Regions from separate parts of the Homo sapiens genome. Here all the other regions are linked to region 1. Evidence: promoter capture Hi-C in human tissues and cell types (Jung and others, 2019). All regions are on one chromosome and are shown on one strand. Each heading gives the region's core, a stretch centred on a gene start or on the middle of the fragment in contact. The rest is flanking DNA. Distances are from core to core; before and after follow the strand shown.

Evidence for each region. The method cuts DNA at HindIII sites, captures the fragments that hold promoters and counts their contacts. A contact is called where the count stands out against the background at its distance.
Region 2: a fragment that was not itself captured here is called in contact with the fragment with the promoter of YY1 in region 1 in 1 of the 25 tissues and cell types used here (IMR-90 fibroblasts).
Region 3: a fragment that was not itself captured here is called in contact with the fragment with the promoter of YY1 in region 1 in 1 of the 25 tissues and cell types used here (heart right ventricle).

Annotation. Positions count from the first base shown.
Region 1 is chr14:100,237,806-100,240,505 of GRCh38, reverse strand. It overlaps YY1 (YY1 transcription factor), which reads right to left and starts at 1,362. Exons shown (of 5, transcript NM_003403.5): 1 at 583-1,362. The coding sequence starts at 1,261. It overlaps YY1-DT (YY1 divergent transcript), which reads left to right and starts at 1,885. Exons shown (of 2, transcript NR_189150.1): 1 at 1,885-2,035. RefSeq lists silencers at 1-440, 711-760, 1,251-1,320, 1,471-1,550, 1,611-2,210 and enhancers at 451-610, 1,448-2,300. The HindIII fragment of the contact is 4,615 bases long and covers 1-2,700 here.
Region 2 is chr14:99,980,532-99,983,231 of GRCh38, reverse strand. It overlaps a transcript of EVL not described here. Among named protein-coding and RNA genes, the nearest start is that of EVL, 84 kb to the left of the region's middle. The HindIII fragment of the contact is 8,150 bases long and covers 1-2,700 here.
Region 3 is chr14:99,922,505-99,925,204 of GRCh38, reverse strand. The region is part of intron 17 of EML1 (EMAP like 1); the gene reads right to left. Among named protein-coding and RNA genes, the nearest start is that of EML1, 130 kb to the right of the region's middle. The HindIII fragment of the contact is 6,286 bases long and covers 1-2,700 here.

The DNA.
Region 1 (2,700 bases), core at 113-2,612:
TGGAAGGTGCCACCGGGGAGCAGTTGGGAGTCCGGGGAAGTTGGGGGCGGGCGGGGCAAGCGCCCGCGGCGCCCTCCAGCGGCCGATGGGGTAACGGCAGCGCCGGGCGGGGGCGGGGGCGCGCGTCCCGGAGGCAGCAATCCCTGGCCCGCGAGGCCGCGGCGCAGCCCCGCCAACGACCTCCCGCGTCCCGCCCGGGCCGGGGGCGCGCAGCTGCCGCCACAACGGGCCGGCGGGCGCGCCCGTTGATGCGGGCGCGGGGAGCGAGGGCGTCGGGGAGCGAGCGCGCCGGCCCCTCCCCCGGCCGTCTCCGCCCCGCGCGGCGCTTCCCCCTCTCGGAGAAACTACGCCATTGCGGCCTAGCCGGGCGGCGCCGGCCCCTCCCCCCCGCGGCCTGCCGCCATCTTCGCGGCCCGCCGCCCGCCGCCGCCGCCGCGCCCCCGCCGCCGCACGGCCCGCCATCTTTTGGGGCCGCCATACTTGCCCTGGCGAAGAAGATGGCGGCGCCCATCACACACATAAAACATGGCTTCCCTTCAAAACAAAAACATCCCGGGGCCGGGGCGCGCGGCCGGCGCTCACCTGAGGACCACATGGTGACCGAGAACTCGCCCTCCAGGGTCTTGATCTGCACCTGCTTCTGCTCCCACTTCTTGTTGCCCGGGTCGGCGCCGCCGCCGCCCGCCGCGCCGGCCCCGCCGCTGAGGTAACTCTTCTTGCCGCTCTTCTTGCCGCCGCCCTTCTTGACGCGGCCGCCTCCCGACGACGACGAGCCGCCGCCGCCGCTCTTGCCGGCCGCCGCCACGGTGACCAGCGTTTGTTCAATGTAGTCGTCGTCGCCGCCGGCCGGCGCGGGCACCGGGATGAGAATCTGATCCTCGAAGCCGTCCTCGGCGCGCAGCCCGTCCGAGTCGTCGCCGCCCACCACCTCCTCGCGCGTCTGCACCAGGATCACCTCCTGGTGGTGGTGCACCTGGGTCGGGTCGTCGGTGACCAGCGGCTGCAGAGCGATCATGGGCGGGTGGTGGTGGTGGTGATGGTGGTGGTGGTGGTGGCCGGCGTGCCCGTGGCCGCCCCCGCCGCCGTGGTCGCCACCGCCGCCGTCCTCGTCGTCGTCGTCCTCCTCCTCCTCCTCGCCCACCACTGTGGTCTCGATGGTCTCCACCGGGATGGTCTCCACCTCGATCTCGTGCAGCTCCACGATCTCGGCCGGCATCTCCGAGCCGTCCGTGGCGATGTAGAGGGTGTCGCCCGAGGCCATGGCTGAGGGCTCCGCCGCCACGGCCGCGGCGGCCTCGGCTCCTCGGCTGCGGGCGGGCGGGCGAGGAGGCGGCCGGCCGTGGGGAAGGAAGGCAGAGGGAGGAAGGCGGCGAGCGGGCGGGGGGAGAGGGGGCGGGCGGCGGGGGAAGGGGCGGGCGCCGCGGCGGCGGCGGGGCTTCCCCGCCTCCCTCGCCTCGGTGCGCCCGCGCCCGCGCTCGCTCGGCCGCTGCTCGTCTCGGCTCCCCGCCTCGCCTCGCCTCGCCGCAACCGCCCGCCCTGGCCGCGCCTCCTCCCGCCCTCCGGGCCGGCGCTCCGCTTCCCCCTTCCTCCTGCGCCTCCGCCTCCTTCCACACAAATACCAACTCCTCAACCCGAGCCCAGATCTCGCCGCCGCCGCCACACTCTGCTCGGGCCCGGCCTCGCGAGACTTCCGCGCTGGCCTCAGCCCGCCCCGCCTCGCTGCCACTCGCCCGTTCGCCCTCTCGATTCTCCTCTCGGCCAATCGATCTGTCCGCTGGCCTCCGCGGCCCCGCCCACTCGCCGGGCTCCTCCCGGATTGGGGCCGATGGGACCGGGGGCGGGGCGGCTCGCACGCGCCCTGGCTGGCCCGCGGCGCGTGACGTCAGCGCGCCGCCGCCGCCGCCACCGCCTCCCGCTTCCCGGTGTCGCGCGGCTGCCGCCCTTCGCGGTGCAACAGCCACAAAACCCGCCGCCTCGGGCCGGGGCCGCACTCGGGAACGGGGCGTCGCCGCTACAGCCGCTGCCTTGGGAGCCGGTGAGCGGTCCGCGCGGCCCCGGGCACCACGGGGGCGGGAGCCTGAGGAGAAGGGAGGGAGGGGCCGGCCGGGAGCGGGGTTGAGGCGGGTGGGCGGCCCGGGGGCCGCGCGGGGAGCGGCTGGCGCGTGCGGGGCGGCCCTGTCGCCCCAATAAAGTCTGCTTTGACGAGAATCGCCTGTGCTTCCTTTTTCGCGTCGGGAGGTGTTTGTTCTTGTCGCCTGGCTTCGGGCGAGCGATGGCCGCGGGGTGAGTGTGGAGGACCGAACGGACAAAATCGGGCGACGCGGGCAGCGTCCGGTATCTCGCCGCGAGCGCCCGGCGGGGTGCGGGGCCGAGCGCGGGGTCGGCGCGAGCTCGGCGGAAGCGCCCGCGGAGCCCCAGGGCCACCGTTGGGAGGATGTCCGTTATTCTTTAGTGACCCGCGGAAACCTGAGACGCAGCCGTTGGGTGCCTGTTTCCCCGTAGATCTTAGAACTACAGGGTCCTGGCGGCTTTCTAAAATTTTCTCCTGAGCTTCCCCTTCTTTGCTCTCCAGTCAGCCATTGTTTCCCTTGCCCACCCTTTCCCCCTATTTGTCACTTTCATAGGTGCTCCTTTTTACGCCCACCAGGTTTTGCATTTGTCTCATTTAAAATTCCAAATTTTTTCAGCCGTGTCCTCCAT
Region 2 (2,700 bases), core at 57-2,556, 260 kb after region 1:
GTCACTGGATCTTTCTTAGAAGGTGATGCATCAATAGCAACTGCAGTTTCTAAACCAAAATTTATCACATATGAAGTCATATAGTCATCTGACAAAAGGGCAGAATATTTGAAACCAGAACTGTCCCATATCCTCATGGAAGATAAACCCTAGAAAATAAATACAGGGTGGTGAGGCTGGGGTGGGGTGGAGTAGGGCAGATAACTAACCTTTACTGAATATCATAAGCTGAGAACTTCTCATGTATTCTCATTTGATCCTCACAAAACCCTCTGAAGAAAGTGAACTGTCCTCATTTATACTTGAGAAAAACGGAGGCTCATAAAGGTTACGTAAATTGCTAAAAGTCAGCTGATAAGTAGTACCTCTGGGGCAGAATCCAGGTCTGACTCTAAAACCCAGGCTGCTCAGTATACAGGGGTTAAATTAAACTAAAACATTTTAAATCTAACTCAAATTCTTTTTAAGAAGTCCCTTTACATACCTACATTAACTGCAAACTGAAGAGTAGATGTCTTTCACACAGCCCTAAAGACAAAGACAATGCATCTTCGTATGAATCGCTCACAGAGGAACTGGGAACAGGGCTCCCTCCCCTGGTGAGCAGACAGAACTACACCATTTCAAAGTACAGTATTTTTTCCCCCCGCTCTCCCTCTTAACCCCATTTACTTCTCTCTCCTGATTCCTTTCCAAAGTCCTTCCTTTGGTGCTTGTTTTTGGGAGAACCTCCAAGTTAAACCTCTAGGATTAAACTTCTATTCACTAACTTTATCTTCTTCTTCTTTAAAATTAACATTCTGGTAGTATATATTGATAGCCTTTAAAATGTTTATACCCTTTGGTCCCAAAAATACCATTAAAATATATATTACGAATAAATTATAGTATACCATCTGACAGACTATTATTCAGCTATTTTAACTGTTTTCAAAGAATATTTAGCTGTTTTCAAAGAATATTTAGTAAGGGGGAAGTGCACATATATCAAATGTACAATGCCCAATACAAATATACAGTACACTTTCAATTTTGTAAAAATGTTTCACTTGTACCTGGGAATGATAAAGGAACTACACCACAGGTTTGATGTGGTTATCTGTAAAGAGCAGGATCAATGCTTATCTGTATTGTCTTCTTTATATCATACCATTCTGTTTTCATACTCTCCTTAACTGTTTCATGAAGGGACCGGCCACTCTTCTCACCCTCACCCCGACATCAGCTGGAAGTGCTTTCCCCTGAGTTACCACCACTCTTACTGCAGCACTTGCGATACATTCATGTGGCAACTCAAGAGTCCCTTCATCAAGCTTATCCAGACAGACCTCGTTTCATTGGGCTTCACTTTATTGAGCTTCACAGGTATTGCGTTTTTTACCAATTGAAGGTTTGTAGCAACTGCCCTGAGCAAATCTATTGACATCATTTTTTCCAATACCCTATGCTCACTTTGCTAGCATTTTTAAGCAATAAGGTATTTTCTAATGAAGGTATGTACATTTTCTAGACATAGTGCTACTGCATACTTAACAGACTATGGTATAGTGTAAACATAACTTCTATATGCACTTGGAAACAAAAAAATTCATGTGACTTGCTTTCTTACAATATTTGCTTTACTGCTTTATTGTGCACCCACTGTATCTCCAGGGTAAGTCTACTGCAAGGTTCCTCAAACATGGGCAGTACACATATTCTCTTTAAAGGGGAAAAATCTGTATGTGAAACAATATGATTTAATTTATATTCATTCAGCTTATATATATAATTGTTACTTTTCTTTTTTTTAATTTTATTTTTGAGACAGTTTCACTCTGTTGCCCAGGCCGGAGTGCAATGACATGATCTCGGCTCCTGCAACCTCCCCATCCCGGGTTCAAGCAATTCTTCTGCCTCAGCCTCCCAAGTAGATGGGATTACAGGCGCCCGCCACCACGCCTGGCTAATTTTTGTATTTTTAGTAGAGATGGGGTTTCACCATGTTAGCCAAGCTGGTCTCCAACTCCTGACCTCAGGTGATCAATCCACTGCCTCAAACTCCCAAAGTGCTGGGATTACAGGTGTGAGTCACCATGCCTGGCCTATTATTTTTCTTAATCAACAGAAGTGCTAGCCAAAAGCCTAAAAAGCAGATGCCTACACTTTTTTTTTTTTTTGAGATAGGATCTCAATATGTTGCCCACCGCCGCCGGTCTCAAACTTTTGGCCTCAAGCCATCCTTCTGCTCAGCCTCCCGAGTAGCTGGGATTACAGGCATGTGACACCACACCCAGCTTATATACACAACTATAAAACTAAGTTTAAATGTCTTATGTTTATATAACTAGATAAGCAAAAAACAAACTTATAAATTAAATACAAACAAAATCACCAAACCAGCAAAATTCAAAATAACATTAATCAATGATGCCGCTCAAATTAAAATCACTGCCCACAAGGTAAATATGGTAATGGCATAGGCCTAAAAACAGGCAGACAGAACAAGAGAGCCTGGAAAGATACACACGGAATCCCTATAGCCCTTACAAAAGCCACCTTAGGAAATGCCCCGTACCTGCAATTTGCAGCACTGGGTTCAGAAATATATTTGGACCCAACTGTGATAGCTAGTATAGGCTAAGGGTGAGAAATGGAGACTGTTTGTACCTGTGTATTTTATACTGTATTCTGTAATCACACTGCATTCTGTAGAACTCC
Region 3 (2,700 bases), core at 137-2,636, 320 kb after region 1:
GAAAGGCCCAGGTAGTTTCACCAAATTCACATACATTCTGTCAAATATTTAATATAACACCAACTTTTCACAAACTCTTTCAGAAAACAGAGGAGAGAACACTTCCTAATTTGCTCTGTAAGGCCGGTAGTACTCTCATAACTGAGACAGACAAAGATGCCACAAGAAAAGAAAACTATACACCAATATCTGTTAGAAACATGGAGGCAAAAATCCTTAATAGAATCCTAGCAAACACATGTAAAAGGGATTATACACCATGATTAAGGGGAATTTACCACAGGAATGTGAAGTTGGTTCAACATCTGAAAATTAATAAAATGTAGTGATATTAATAAAATAAGATGAAGGATGAAACCCACATAATAATCCCAACAGATGCAGAAAAAGCATCTGATAAACTCCAACCCCATTCATGCTAAAACCTCCAAACAAATTAGAAATAGAAGGGAACTTTCTCACTATGATAAAGGGCATCTTTATCCCTCATGATGAAAGACTGAATGCTTTTTCTCCTCAGAAAAACAGAAGAAACTTAATAAAATGTAGTGATATTAATATAATATAATAAGACTGAAACAACTTTCTGTGGTTTCAGTAACCTGTGGTCAATTGTGGTCTGCAAATATTACGTATAATACAGTATTCTGAAAGAGAAACCATATTCACATAACTCTTATTACAATATATTGTTATATTGTTCTACTTTATTATTATTGTCATTAATCTCTTACTGTACCTGATTTATACATTTAACTTTGCCATAGGCAAGTATATATAGGAAGAAACATAGTACACTTAGCATTTGTTGTTATCCATAGTTTCAGGCACCTGTGTGGGGTCTTGGAAGGTAGCCCCTGTGGATTGGGAGGGACTATTATACTAAAACTAATCAAAGAAGTTTAGAAAGGTCATAGGATATAAGATCTACGTGCAAAATTCAATCCTATTTTTACATACTAGCAGCCAACCAACTGAAAACAAAATTCAGAAAACAATTCCATTCACAATGGCATAAAAAAAACACTTATTTTGGAATAAATTTAACAAAGGAAGTGCAAGACTTGTACACCTACAACTATAAAGCATTGCTGAGAAAAAGTAAAGACCTAAATAAATGGAGAGACAGTCTTTGCTCATGATAAGAGCCACTATTGTCCAGGTGGCAATTTCCCCCATATTGATCTGTAAATTAAACATAATCCCTCTTACAATCCTAACAGGCTTTTCAAAGTTAGAAATTGACGAGCTGGCCTAGTGTGGTGCCTCACACCTGTAATCCCAACACTTTGGGAGGCCGAAGTGAGACGATCTCTGGAGACCAGGCGTTTGAGACCGGCCTGGGCCACAAAGTAAGACCCTGTGTCTACAAAAAAATTTCAAAAAACAAAATAATAAAAAAAGACAAGCTGATCCTAAAATTTATATACAATTTTACATATAGTAGGAACCTAAAATAGCCAACACTATTTTGAAAAAAACAACAAATTTGCAGCAGTGACACTACTCAATTTGAAAATTTCCTCTAAGGTCACAGTAATCGGGGATAAACACAGGTGAAGGGGGCAGAACTGAGTATCCGGAAATAAACCTTTACATTTCTGATCGATTGATTTTTGACAAAAGTGTCATTGATAATTCAACAGGGAAAGACTGTGTTTTCAACAAAAAGTGCTTGGGACAACTAGATACCTCTATGCAGAGCAAACAGGCTCTTCCTTCTCACCATCCACAAGAAACAAGTCTAGTGTACTCTTGTAACTCTTGTGTAATTAACTCAAATGGATCATAGACTCGAATGCAAGGGCTAAAACAACTCTTCTAAAAGAAAGCATACAAGGAAATATTCATGATCTTGGATACGACCCCAAAGGCATGATCCACAAAAGGAAAAATTGATAAACTGAACTTCATCAGAATTGAAAGCTTTTGTGCTTTAAAAAACCCCATTAAGAAAATGAAGGCTGGGCATGGTGGCTCACACCTATAATCCCAGCAGTTTTGGGAGGCCGAGGCAGGCAGATCACTTGGGCCCAGGAGTTCAAGACCAGCCTGGGCAACATGGCGAAACCCTGTCTCTAACAAAAATACAAAAATTAGCCAGACGTGGTGGTGTGTGCCTGTGTTCCCAGCTACTTGGGAGGCTGAGGTGAGAGGATTGCTTGGACCTGAGGTCAAGGCTGCAATGAGCCATGATCATGCCAGTGCACTCCAGCCTGGGTGACAGAGTGAGATGCTGTCTCAAAAACAAACAAACAGAAAAAAAGATAAGCCATACATTCAGAAAAAATATTTGCAAATCATCTATCTGATAAAGACTGTATATACGGAATATATAAAGAGGACTTACTACTCAACAGTAAGACAAACAGCCCAATTAAAAATTGGCAAAATATCTGAATAGATATTTCACCAAAGAAGATATTGGAATGACTAATATGCACATTAAAAAATGCTCAATATCAATAGTCATTAGGGAAACACCAATTAAAACCACAATGAGATGCCATTACACCCTCTTTAGAATGACTATAATCAAAAGGACAATAACAAGTATTGGGAGGATGTGATGATACTAGAACCCTAGCACATGGCTGACGAGAATGTAAAATAGGACAGGCAGTCTGGCAGTTTCATAAAATGTTAAACATAAGTTTACCATACAATCCGTCAATTTCACTCCTAAGAATTTACCCGAGA